3 separate regions of the Homo sapiens genome follow, and regions 1 and 3 are each linked to region 2. Evidence: promoter capture Hi-C in human tissues and cell types (Jung and others, 2019). All regions are on one chromosome and are shown on one strand. Each heading gives the region's core, a stretch centred on a gene start or on the middle of the fragment in contact. The rest is flanking DNA. Distances are from core to core; before and after follow the strand shown.

Region 1 (4,458 bases), core at 967-3,466, 51 kb before region 2:
CACTGACTTGCTGGGCTGGAACAGGGGCCAGGGAGGGCCCCAATGGGAAATGCAGGCCCCTCCAGGGGCAGCCAGCCTCCGATAAGAGTTGATGAGTATCAGGAGGACTTTTTCCCTCTGGGAAGCTGTGGGTAAGACCTACTTTGAGGTTGACATTTGAGACGGCCTCAAGACTTCGTTTGTTTCCACTGGGATTTACTCCCTGAAAGCCAGCAGGCCCTCTCCAATCCCCATGCCTTCCTGCCAGGAACATTCTTCCCTCTGCTCTACCGAGGATGCCATGCTTTAAAATCCAGAAAGCTTGCTCTCACACCCTCCTTCCCAGAGTCCTAGACAGAGCTCACCAACCTCTTTGTGCTGTGACTGAACTTTGACACCACCTGTGCACACGTCAGTGGTTGTCACATTCAGCTGGAGGCCAGTGAGTGCAGACTCTGGAGAAGGAATGGCCATGTTCACCTCCCAGCTCTGTCAGGAACTGTCGACAAGAATCAACTTCTCCCTAAGCCTCAGTTTCCTCATCTGTTAAGTGGGGATAAACAGAATGTCTCACATGGGGCCTGGCACACACAGGCCTGGCCTTATCATCCCTGCAGCTGGAGAAGGCCTGCCCCTGAGCAGTGCCTGGAGGCTGCCCCACCAACAGAAGGCTCTGTCCAAGAATTGACACGACAGTCCCATCCAGGCATCCTCCTCCACCCACCCTGGTGCCAGCGCCTCTACAGTCTGACATCTAAACTCTCGGGTTGGCATCTGTTTGTAATGTGCTTGTTCCACTCGGTTCTAAATTCCTATTGTCCATCACCTTCCTCCCTGGAGAGCCCTGAAGCCTAGAGGTCCAGGGTCTCTCCCTGACACCACTCCCCCAGCACCGCTGACCCAGCAGAGGGTTGGGACGTGCTCTGAGGCCGCTGTCTGCAAGGGGAACAAGGGGCCCACTGTGTGGCCGGCCCGCCAGACCCAGATATTTTAACAGCTGCTTTGTGTATTCCTGAAGCGCGATTCCTGAGTGTGGAGGAAAAACAAGGCTGGCCTCTGCCCTGAGGAGGGAAAATCACACTGCCCCGGGCAGGCTGAGGGCTGGGGTGAAGGCCTCTCAGGGGCCCAGGGTGGCAGCAGACATCAGAAACAGACCCCAGTAGCCTGGCACACGGGAGCCACAGGCACCCAGACCCATGCCAAGGCCCCCTTAATCCAAGACTGAGAAGGCAGGGAGTTGGGGGTGGGGGCAAGGACCAAGGGCCACTGAGGGTGGAAAATCCTTGCAGGAGACTCTGAGAGGGGACGAAGGACCATGAAGGCAGTGAGTGCGCACAGGACAAGGTCCAAGTCGCTGTCATGGCCCCAAGGCCCTGCCTCAGGATCTGCACCCCCAGGTTCCCTGCCCCACCCCCATTCCACCGCAGTCATGCTGTCTGTGACTCTGATCACGCGGTTCCTCTGCCTGGAATGCTAGTTCCCCAATACCCACTATGACACCCCCTCAGAGAAGCCTCCCTGGGACCACCCCCTGCCAGGCCAGGCAGGGGTCTGTCTTGCCTGTGTGCCTGCCAAGGTCAAGGCTCCTATCTCATTGTGTTTTAACTACATGTTTACGTGTCCGTGTCCCTTTATGGCCACCCTCGACACAGACACCATCAATGTTTGTTGACTGACTCAGAGACGAACTGAACACATAAATGCTCTCAGGCACTCAAGTCTTCAAGAATCCTCTTCTTCTCCGAGCATCCCCTCAGGCTTCAATGCCCCACAAAGTCCACGTGGTGAGCAGCTTCTAGACCCTGAGACCCACAGGCACCTTTAAGGGAGGGCTGGGTTGGAGAAGGCATCAGGCTATCTCTTAGGTCAGGAAAAGTGCAGTAATCGACTTCTAATGTCTGCTGCAGGAGGCACACTAGTCAACTTGTACTGTCTGCCATGGGCAGTGTTTGCCAGCACTGCATAAGAATGCCTTCCTTCCCTTACATTGTAAACCCCTTGAGAGCAAAAGATTTGCCATGCATAGTACTTAGCACTGAAGCCTATACATATTAACTGGGTACCTGCTGAGCTCTAAGCACAACCATTTTCAAGATGAATAAAAAAGTGTTTATCTCTTAAAAGCGCTTTTTGAGCACTGACACACTCAAAAGAGCTATTTTCTCAGTGGAATTGCAGGTTGGGCGGGGGGTTGGAGGGTGGGGGTGGTATTTTGGGGTCAGGGGAATGGTGCAGGTGGCCTTTCCAGGCTCTTCCAATTAGGACCCAAACAGCAGGGATGATGGCGGTGGTGGGAGATGTCTGCAGATCAAGGACAAATCTCACCTCTTCAAACAATGTGATCCAACCGACACCAAGTCTCAAAGTCTTGAGAAAGGAGCTGGGCTGACCTGGGACCCTGTCTGGTTGGCAGGACTCTGGGCAAGCTACAGGGAGAGGAGCCTCCCATTGGCCCATCACACTGCTCCTCAGAACCTGGCGATGGGCTCTGACACTCGCTGAGACCCGTCCAGGGTGGTGGGGAGAGCTGCGTTTTGATTCCTCTGAGTTTGTCCTCTTACGGATCCTGGGATTGTGAGGCTGCCTTGCCAGGAGCCACCCCAAGCCCAGACCACGTGTTTCTAACCCCTCTGTCTTCTCCCTCTTATGACAGAGTCTGGCACCCAGAAAGGCCTCCAGGGGTCATCTCATCCAGCCCCCGGGCAGCTCAGCCCCCAAGCAGTCCTTTGCCAATGATGCAGCGGGGCTGTCACTGGGCCCCTTACCTGGTTTATAACCACAGCAGTTGGTTGCAGTTAACCACATCGCTATCCCAGCCCAGACTGGCAGTGCAACTCTGGGTGTGAGATAGGCAGGCTGGACCCCCAGGGAGTACAGTGTTATGCCATGATTGGATGGAGACAGGAATTTTGACATGTGAGGGGAGCATACCAGGATCCAAGTGCATGGATCCAAGCCACCTGCAGCCACGAGCCAGCAATCTCCAAGGCCTGAGGTCACCCTCTCCATGGGTGGTGCTGGGCTTGGGGCAGGGGCAGGGCAGGGGTGGGAGTGCTGACTGCAGATCCAGGGTGGTAGCTCTGCTTCTCGAGGCTCCAGGGAGAACCGGGCTGGTGTGTGGCCCTGGCATCTCCTGGTTTGGTCTCCTGCTCCAACTTGCCCAGCTGCAGCCCTCCCCACACCTCCCAGGTGATGCCTGCACCCAGCCCTTCTGTCTGTGCCTCTGCCAGCCTCAGCCACCGGCTTTCCTCCAAGTCTGCCAGCAACCAACAGCCAGCACCACCCTGGCCAGTAGAACACCACTTTTTCCTTGCAATGAAGCCAACAGGAGTGCCCTGCCTTCAGCTGGGATCTTCATGATGAGGTAGGAGGTAGCTCACGTGCTAAGCCGGCCCTGGATAAGCCTCGCTCCTGCCTGGTCCAGTCTCTCCCAGGCCCTGGCCTTCCTCTGCATGCCCAGGAGGCCACATGCCCTCAGCCACCCTCCCTCCCTCCTGGCAGCCACCTCATCGCAGCCCAGGCCAGGTGTCTGGGACCCGGATCCAATAATGTGGTCTGCTGCAGCCTGGACATGCGCCGGCTCAAGGAGGCCAGGAGGGTTTGACCAGCTCCGTGACTTGAGACAAGCTCGACGTTCTTTATTTGGGTGGCACAGGTTTCCTGAGGGCCTACTGTGTGCCAATCTTGAGTCTCCATCCTTGACCACAGAAGTGAGGGAAACACAGTACTACCGCCCCAGAGCTTCCAGTCCAGGTGTGGGGTGGGGAGACCGGCATCAGAGGAAACAGGCCGTGCCAACCCAGAATAAGCCTCCTAGCAGGGATAAGCTCTGGGGGGCTACCAGTCTTGCTAACCTGAGGGAGTCAAGGAAGGTTTCCTGGAGGCAGGGATGAGTGAGCATTTTCAAAGGAAGAACAGTTCCGGTCCAGAAAGGCCTGCTAAAGCAGAGAGGACCACAGCAGATGGAGGCTGTGTCTGGGGGGCGAGCAGGAGGCAGGGCAAGCATGGAAGCCTGTAGCTCTGAGTCCTGGAAGTCAAGTGTCCGGCAGACTGGAAGGGTGTGCTTACCCCTCGGGACTCCCCACTGTCTGCAGAATGACATTCAAACTCCTTATCTGGGCCCCCAAAACCCCCAAGGCCTGTGCCCTCCCTGCCCCCTCAGCCTCACTTGCCACCAACTCAGGACTCGCCCTTTATGTTATTTCTAGAAGCCTGCAACCCCCAGACACTGCCTGTCAGGCCTTTGCATTCATGCCCTTCCCCTTCAAAAAACACCTGTCTGATGAACTCCTAAGAGCTAAGGCTGGGATCTCTTCCACCCAGCACACGTGTCCCAGCCCTCCTGCCCCAGGCAAGGGCCTGGTGCTCCCACATGGCCCCTTATTAGCCTGGGAGACCCACAGCACAGCACTGGGTGAAGCTTCTACAGTGTGCTTCACTGCCTGTTCCACTGGATGGCTCAGATATTTGACTTTCATT
Region 2 (4,336 bases), core at 1,341-3,840:
AAACCACCCTAAATCTTACCAAATATAATTAACTTTAAAACTCATCAGACAAGCGACAACTTTCCATATGGCTGGGCTTGAGTGGAATTCGAATCCCAGGGAAAAACATCTCCACAATTTCCTGTAACCCTCAAGAGAGAAGCAGCAAGTCTAGGAAAACAAAAGCAAGAACGATGAAGAAAGAGGCACAAGAAGCATAGTCAAAAAGAAGAGAAGGCCCCTGATGGATCTGGATTCCACATTCTAGAATGACTGCCCCAGGACAGACCAGAAGCTGGGAAAAGCCTAAATAAAGAGCCTCCAAACTCAAAGCAGCCAGGCATAGCCAAGGTGCCCCCCGTCCCTGTGGAGTCAGGCCCAGGTAGCCACACCGTGAGCTTCCCCCTAAACAAGCAACTGCAAAGCCGTTCCCAGGCCCCAGGGAGGGCCTGTCCCCAGACACAGGGAAACCCAGCCAAGGGAACTCCCAGCAAGGTAAGGAAATGGGCGGAGAGAAAGCTGGCAGGTGAGGTGGCTGGAACAAACTGGTCTCATCAGGGAGGCCTGTGACAAACCCGCCTATTCCTCCGCTTTCCCCGCTGTATATTTTGGATTTCACAGTTTATTTACTTTACTTTTTGGCACCGAGCCCCCTGAGCATGCCAATACAATATTTGTTTAAACACTATTTTATGCTGCTTGCGAGGGAAACGTTTACTTTCAAATTCTCCTACATCCCCCAGAGCCTCGTCTGCAAACAGCCTATGAGCGTTTTACAACTGCTCCCTTTATCTGAAGCTGTCGGGATTAAACCTTCACACGCCCGGCAAGAGCGGCGGAGAGGGGGCCCGGGACACCGCTGCGGCCACCGAGCTGCAAAGCCCGTGCCAGAGGTCGCGCACCGAGCGGGATGCCCGGGCTGGGGGACAGAGGGACGCCTACAAGACTCCCAGGGCGCGGGACCAGACAGTAGGGACAGGTCTACTTTTCCAGCTGGGATCAACTCTAGGAGCCACAGAACAATTACACAAAAGAGAAGGTAGTGGAAAGAGGCACCCTCGGGGGGGCTCGAGGTCCCCGAGAGCCTCAGCGACCGATCACCCAGGGTGAGGCGCACGGGCTCCATCCCCAGCTCCCCGCGCGGTAAAAGTCGGGTTTCCTAGGAAATGACAGCAGTTACCGCCGGGCTGAAAAGGCGCCGAGCTGGGTGGACTCCCAGCTCTCCAGCGCGGCGGGCGCGCTCACACTCACACACGCAAGCACACGCTCCCTCCCAGCTCCCCGCCCCCGCCCCGTCCGGGGAAAAGACTCCCCTCTCTAAACCCTTAATAGGATTGGCGCCCAACTCTCTCCGCGCCTCTCCCCATCCATCACATACAGATCAAGTTGCAGTAGTGGATTTTTCAAATTCCTCAGCAAATATACTTGTTGAGAGATTGTCGGGGGTGGGGAGAGACGATGAGTAGGGGGGCAGGGATGAAAGTGAGGTGGAAGGGGGAACCGGAGGACCCGGCAAAGGATTACGTGCGGATCCCTTTGGGAAGTCAAGCGGATCTCAGGGCCGAGGGCAGGAGAGGAGGAGAAGAGAGGCAAAGAGGGGGGGCCGAGGAGGAGAGCCCAGCAGAGGGGGAGGGGGCGGCCGGGCCGGGCGAGGGGGAGGAAGGATTGAGGAAGGAAGAAAGAAAGGCAGGGCTCCGGGACGCGCAGCGCGGAGAAGTGGAGTTCGAAGTTCTCAAGTGGCTGGCTGCAGCCCCTCCGCGCTCAGTACGCCCGCAGACACGCTCCCATGCCCACCTACGGCAGCTTCGGAGCATCCCAGCCTCCGATCCCACCCTCCACCCCCTGAAAAAACAGACCCCCGCCGGCGCGCGGAGGCCGGCTCGCTGTGCACCCCGAGAAGAGTGGTGCTCTCCCCCAGGTAGGGAGAGGGTGCAACATCGACCTCTGGCCACGAGCTCCAAGCCCCAGGACTCTCCTTACGTCCCCGCCCTGCTCGTCCAGAGCCCCAGGCGGGGTCGCGCCTACTAGCCTCTAGTCCCCCGAAGCCCAGGGCCCCGATCCCAAGGCCTAGGCGCCGGTACCCGGCCGAGGGACCCCCCGAGACGGCGCAGCATCCCAGTCGGCCCGCGCTTGGCCGAGGTGGGAGGCGCTTCGTCACGAAAAGCAAGCAAAAGAAGGCCAATGCAACTTTACCGAGAGAGACAAAAGTTTGCCTCTAGCACGCAGGTGGCCTCTCGGGCGCCGGGCGGTGGCTGTGGGCCCCCATCCCACCTTGGCTGGCGCGGCGACCCTCGGCTGGCTGCCTTGTGCCGGGGCTCCAGCCAGCCGGGGCGGGGCGGGCCAGGCAAGAGAGGGGACCGAGAGGCGGGCGGGCGCCGCGCAGCCCCTACCGCCGGCGAGCAGGCGGCTCCCCGAGGCTGCGGCGCGCCGCGCGGCCCAAGCTCTTTCCTCCGGCTCCTCCTGCGGCTCCTGGCCTTCCTCCGCGTTCGCAGTCGCAGCCGCCGCCGCCGCCCGCTCCTCCTCGAAGTCTCATTGATGGGAGTTTGAAAAAAAGTCCGCGGAGCCGTGCTGCCTCGGCTGGCAAGCGCCGGCACTTCTGCAATCCATCAGCGCCGCCGGACTGCGCAGCGCCCCCGCGCGCACGGTGCGGGCACACCCGGGCCCCAAGAACCCGCCAGCCAGCCCGCCCGCTCCCTGCCGGGGGACGCAGGGGGACCCGAACGCCGCCGGGGCGGGGGGAGGGGAAAGGGGGAGCACAGGGACTCTCCCCACCCAGCACCAAGGAAAGAAAACGCACCTACAAGGAAAGTTCGAGAAAGGAACCAAAGGACGCGCCAATCTCCGACACTTTTTTTAGACGACTAGGTGTGGGGGGGGGGGTTGGGGGTGTCGCTAACTCAAGTCAGATGAGCTCCGGAGCTGAGGGGCAAGGGCTGCTCTGTTTTCAATCTCTGAAATCCCCCCGCCCTCCCCACCTCCCACTTCCCTCCTCGGGGAGATGCCTGGGTCGCTGTTCCCAGGGCGCCCGCTTCTCTGGACGCCCGCGCGGAAGCCGGGGACGCCAGAGAAGGGACGCGGGGGCTGGGTCCACGCGGACCCTCTTCCCGCGGGCAGCGAGCGCAGGTGCCGGGGGTCCTGAGGCGTCCCCCGCCGCCGCTAGCCCTCGTCGCCATCTGAGCACACGCTGGCGAGAAACGAAGCAGCCTTCTAGGTTTGGTGCATGTGGCTTGCAGGGTGGGTTTTTGTTTTGTTGTGTTGTGTGTTTTAGAGACTCCACTCGAGCCGCTGAAGCCAGATGGAAGTAATCAGAACCCAACAACAACAGAGAAAGAAGGAAGAAAAAACTCCTCATTGAATTTTCTAGCCAAAGTGTATATGGGGCTGTGTGTGAAAGAACTTGCTTAAGCAAGCTCAGTGAGGAGCCCTGGGCCCTCAAGCCACACCACAGCCCGGAACTGGGCCGCCAGGCTTGGAGGAGAATTGGGGGCAGCTGGCTAAAGTGTCCTCCCCACACCCCCGGGCCTGCCACCCTCTCCAGGGCCCCTGGGCCTCACCCGAAGAGGGTCTTGGGGGGAATTTCTGGTTTTATTCTTCCTAACGTTTGTAGAACACTCTACCAAGTGCCAGGTGATGTTATATTTTCTTTGTATTATTGGACTTTCACAGCTCTGTAAGGAAGGTTCTCTTCTCGTGTTTTTACAGGTGGGAAGTCTGATGCTTTAAAAAGTTAAGTAACTAGTCTAAGGTCAGAGCACTCTGCCATCCTCCCAGAGCTTCGGGTGGTTGTACTGTAAGTTCAGTTAAATTTGCCCTGTTGGGCCGGGCGCGGTGGCTCACGCTTGTAATCCTAGCACTTTGGGAGGCCGAGGCACGGGGATCACCTGAGGTCAGGAGTTCAAGACCAGCCTGGCCAACATGGTGAAACCCCGTCTCTACTAAAAATACAAAAAATTAGCCAGGGATAGTAGCGCGCGCCTGTAATCCCGGCTACTTGGGAGACTGAGGCTGGAGAATCTCTCAAACCCCTTGGGAGATGGAGGTTGCAGTGAGCCATGATGGCGCCACTGCACTCCAGCCTGGGTGATGGAGCGAGACTCTGTCTCAAAAAAATAAATTAATTAAATTAAATTTTTAAAAAATTGCCCTGTTGAGGTGGGTGGAAGTGTCTCTCCCTTCAGCCCCTGTTCCTAAAATTGCATTTTATTTGAAATGCAAGGGACCCAATGCTACCCTCCCTGAGGGGATGTGACCTACACAGGCCCATTTCACCGGTGCAACCCTTTTTGTGGGTGGCTCTCTCCATATACCTTTTATCCTCTGCTAACTTTATTCTTTTACTTTTTAATCAAAGAGGATG
Region 3 (4,583 bases), core at 1,594-4,093, 43 kb after region 2:
ACTCCAGCCTGGGCGACAGAGCAAGACTCCGTCTCAAAAAAAAAAAAAAAAAAAGAAAAAGAAAAAAAGAAAGAAAAAGAAGAAGAAGAAGAAAAGGAAAGAAAAGAAACCCAGGTCTTCTGGGGGCTGACGGGTTTCCATGGGGGGCCTTCTCACTTTTTTACTCCCTTAGGAGAGGCAACCGCCTTCCTTGGAGGCCAGGTTTGGAGGCTTCTCCACGAGATCACAGAAGTTCTGCCAACTCCCCAACCTGTCCAATGGGTCCTAGGCTCTTTATGCCTTAGAACAGAAGTCAGGGGACTTGGACACATTGTGGAGTGATATGGGACACTCTCTCCTCTGAGAAACAGATGACCCTCCAAGAGGCGCCAGCAGTGGAGCACTGTCTGGAGCATTTTGGGGTCCTGCTTGGAATGCTGCTATCTAATAAGCCTGGGGCGTTCTGGGGTGGCCACCTGGCAGCTTTTGGACCTGAGCCAACAAGTCTCTGTGATTTACCTCGTAGGATCATTCCTTTTGGGCAGTAGGTGGTGAGAAGAACAGTGTGAGGACATCAGCGCAACCAGCCATGGTTGGGAGCAGGAGACAGGGGCGCCTTGTATGTGCTCTCCAGGCTGTCCCCACCTCCTTCCATGTGCGATGTCAGTGCCCTGAATCAGAGTACTGGCTGGAAGGCCTTCCCCCCGAGCCCCTGCCACTGGAGCAGGTGGGAGTGTGGGCGTGGGGGGATGCTGGAGGAACATCCTCAAACCTGACACCCTGGTACAGCCCAAGGAAGAGGGGCTGATCATGGCTTCTCTGCCCATCTGAGCCCAGTCAGCGTCAAAAGCCCTTTCCAGGCAGCCTGGAGAACACCTTCCCACCAGGATGTCTTATTAATGAAATCAATAATGAAATCATTACCGAGGACATTATCAAATGCTCCTGCCTCTTCTGGGAGCTGCTGCTTAGAAAACAGGAAGGATGGGCTTTTCCCAAAACTCATGTTGAACGGTTTCAGACATCCAGAAAAGTTGAAACAACAGGTCTATGTCACTTAGATTCTACAATTCTTAATATTTTGTCATGCTTGGTTCCTTTCCACCTTTTCCATAGATGTAACACAGATATATGTAGATACACACACACACGCATGCACACATGTTTTTATGTGTGTGGGTCAGTTTGAAAGTTGCTGACTCGGTGACATTTCACCCTCTTTAACAGACATCTCTTAAGAATAGGGATATTCTCCTCTGTAACCATGAGACCATTACTGTACTTAAGAAAGTCACCAACAGTTCAGTAATACCTAATATTGAATCCATTTTCAAATTTTCAGAGTTGTCGCCTAAATGTCTTTGATGGCTGATTTTTTTTTTTTTTTGAGCTGGGATCCGATCAAGATCACATATTACATTTGCTGGTTATGGTTTTTTGTCTTTAGTCCCTTTTAATTTAGAAGGATTTAGCTGGGCGTGGTGGCTCATGCCTGTAATCTCAGCATTTTGGGAGGCTAAAGTGGGTGGATCACCTGAGGCCAGGAGTTCGAGACCAGCCTGACCAAAATGGTGAAACCCAGTCTCTACTAAAAATACAAAAATTAGCCGGCATGGTGGTGCACACCTGTAGTCCCAGCTACTCGGGAGGCTGACACAGGAGAATCACCTGAACCTAGGAGGCGGTGGTTGCAGTGAGCCCAGATTGTGCCACTGCACTCCAACCTGGGTGATGGAGAGAGACAGTCTCAAAAAAAAAAAAAAAAAAAAAGGAAAGAAAAAAAATTAAAAGGATTCTCTAGCCTTTTTTTAAAAAAAGAAATCTTCATGTCATTGACATTTTCAGAGCATGCAGATCAATTGTTTCGCAGACATTCTCTCACTTTGACTCTGTTGGGTCTTTTTCCTTCGTGACTAGAATCAGGTTTTCTGCACAAATCCTATGTGGGGAACGTGGGGTCCTTCTTGGTGCATGGCTTCAGAGGCACATGAGGCCAGGTTGTTGGACTAACAGTGATGCTGGTGACATCCCCTGGTTAGGGTGATGTTAGGCAGATCGATGTGTCATCTCCATCAGTATTGTTTCTGATGTCCTCATGGCCCCAGCATTAGTCAGTGGAAACCCATCAGACAACTTCCTATGTCTGTTTATCCTGGCCCTGATTAGTCTTCAATAACACCCTTGTTTCTGGCACCAGACATCCAAGATTTGCCTTGTCTCTTCCAGCCCAGACCTGGAACCACCTATTTCTCCAGGGAGGCCTGGTTCTTTGAGTGGAGAAGGGTATTTAAAAATCCAAGACTGGGACCTAACTGTGCTCCTCACTAGTAGACAGAGCTGGGCAATGGGCATATTAACTCAGGAGTGGATGCCGGTGCCAGGAAGAGGGTGTGGGACCCAGGGCAGAGGCACAGTCAGAGGTGTTGGCTGAGTGTCCGAAACCAGGGTCTGAGAAGGTCTGGAGTTGCTGGGAGAGCTGATAGGTGCCACCTTTGGGATTTTTCCTGACTTCAAACTCGATGACTCCACAGAGCCTGTGGCGAGATGCCTAAGTGATTAACTTCTGAGCAGGGCTGGAAGAAAGGCTTTGGGGCGCTGTGAGGTTGAGACCTTGGTGTGGAGGGAAATGTGGGCCTGTACTGCTCAGTCAGCCTCTAAGATGGGTGGGCTGCACACAATCACCCCTTCCCGGTCAGTGCTAGAGCTGGGAGTGGGGTGGGGAGGAAGTTGAGGGCCAGTCAGAGAAGAAGGAGGGGTGAGGGGGTGCCCCACTATGGGATCCCTGCAGTTGGGAACCCCATAAAAAGGCATCAAAACAAACCTGAGGCCAGGTGCGGTGGCTCATACTTGTAATCCCAGCACTTTGGGAGGTTGAGGTGAGTGGATCACCTGAGGTCAGGAGTTTGAGACCAGCCTGGCCAATGTGGTGAAACCCCGTCTCTACCAAAAATACAAAACTTAGCCGAGCATGGTGGCACATGCGCCTGTAATCCCTGCTACTTGGGAGGCTGAGGCAGGAGAATTGCTGGAACCTGGGAGGTGGAGGTTACAGTGAGCTGAGATTGCACCACTGCACTCCAGCCTGGGCGACAGAGCGAGACTCTGTCTCAAAAAACAACAACAACGACAAACAAACAAACAACAAAAAAACCCCACAAACCCGAGCATCACCACCAGCTTCCTAGGACTCCCAAAAGCAGGGTGGGAGCCAAGAATTCTCCATGGAGGGGAAGAGGTCCCAAGCCCCCACAGATTGGGGCTCCGCTTTGATCTGTCTCAGCTGGTGGGCCCAGCGCAGCAGAAGGGCCAGCAGAGAGGAGCACGTTTACAATGAGCAGTGCACCTTGGAGGTTGTTTTGTGGCTTTGCACAGAGAGGCGTCTAAAGCTTCTTTATGACTGCAGCGTTCCATTGTGTGGATTTACCAAATGTTATCTCATTTTATCCAACCAGCACCCTATTGATGGCTATTGAGGCTGCTCCCAGAGTGTTTTGCTATTACAAACTGTATTCTGATGAATAGTCTTGTACATGGGTTTTTGTGCATTAATAAGAGTTTGTCTTGGGATACATTCCTACAAGTTGAAATGCTGATTCAAAGGCATTATTTAATTCCTCAAGCTGCCTTCCACAGAGGTTGCACCCTCCTACTACCATTGGCAACATGAGTGTCTGATTTGGAAGGCTGGCGGAGTAAACACATTGTGGTCCCTACCAACATGGCTGCTGTGGTCCCTACCAAGATGGCTGCTGTGCTCCGGGCTGGGTGAGCACACTAGATGTGCACAGAATCCATTTTTGTTACAGATCAGGTTTCAAGCACAAACGCACAGGTGCCCTTCCTGGCAGCTGCTTCCAATGGCAATGCCCCAGCAGCTGCCTGTCTCTCCTGACATGCTTAAGGGTGCAGGCCGAGGAAGGCCCAGTGGGCTGTCTGCAAGTTGAGGGAGGCACTCAAGGCAGAAGTCAAGTGCTCCTGGGTTGCAAACCTGGAATAAACTGGAATGGTTGCTAGGACAAGGAGCCTCATGCAGGCAGGGGTGGCATGTTTCCAGTGTAACCATCATGGAATATATGTAATCATAGCAGTGTAATGATAATGCTATGCAATTTTTGTCTCCCCTTGACTCCAAATCCACGCTGGGGGCCAATTCTTTGCCTAGCCCTTTGTGAATTTCAGGGCATTTCCCCATGACTTTTCTTATCACCCTTAGGTAATAAAAAGTACTCTGGTTCCCTTAAGTCATACAAGACAGACCCAGTTCTGCATAAATGTGTTCCGTTCAGTGTAATGAGTAAAACTTTCATTAATAGGCATGCTTCTCCATCCCCAGCCTGACACACTGGCCTCCTGGAGGTGGGTGGGAGTGGAGCTGCTTCTCTCCTTCCTCCAGGATCCCCTTGCCTTTGTCCGCCACCTTGTCACTCCTGTGCTCTGGGGTGAGGGTGGAGGGAGGAGAGGTGTGTGGGGCAGGGCCGGGGGGAGGGATTCTGACACGCTGATCCGATGTTGGTTGGGCACTTGGGCTGGCAGGTGGTGGAATCTGGCATTTCGGTACAGCGGCTCTCTAGCTCCAACTTCCCTTGACCATTCTAACGCTGCTC

What was found. Contacts are between HindIII fragments. The study calls those that stand out against the background at their distance.
Region 1: a contact is called between a fragment that was not itself captured here and the fragment with the promoter of GLI2 in region 2, in 2 of the 25 tissues and cell types used here (IMR-90 fibroblasts and mesenchymal stem cells).
Region 3: a fragment that was not itself captured here is called in contact with the fragment with the promoter of GLI2 in region 2 in 1 of the 25 tissues and cell types used here (small bowel).

The regions. Positions count from the first base shown.
Region 1 is chr2:120,784,180-120,788,637 of GRCh38, reverse strand. The region is part of intron 1 of GLI2 (GLI family zinc finger 2); the gene reads right to left. Among named protein-coding and RNA genes, the nearest start is that of GLI2, 51 kb to the right of the region's middle. RefSeq lists enhancers at 1-706, 1,629-2,551, 4,396-4,458 and a silencer at 2,571-2,865. The HindIII fragment of the contact is 4,739 bases long and covers 1-4,458 here.
Region 2 is chr2:120,734,122-120,738,457 of GRCh38, reverse strand. It overlaps GLI2 (GLI family zinc finger 2), which reads right to left and starts at 2,590. Exons shown (of 14, transcript NM_001374353.1): 1 at 2,173-2,590. It overlaps LOC124906073 (a long non-coding RNA gene), which reads right to left. Exons shown (of 3, transcript XR_007087219.1): 3 at 3,608-4,336. LOC124907881 (a long non-coding RNA gene) reads left to right here and starts at 797. Exons shown (of 2, transcript XR_007087221.1): 1 at 797-1,897. RefSeq lists enhancers at 385-885, 886-1,386, 2,505-2,674, 3,314-3,961. The HindIII fragment of the contact is 8,822 bases long and covers 1-4,336 here.
Region 3 is chr2:120,690,828-120,695,410 of GRCh38, reverse strand. No RefSeq gene overlaps it. Among named protein-coding and RNA genes, the nearest start is that of GLI2, 43 kb to the left of the region's middle. The HindIII fragment of the contact is 6,383 bases long and covers 1-4,583 here.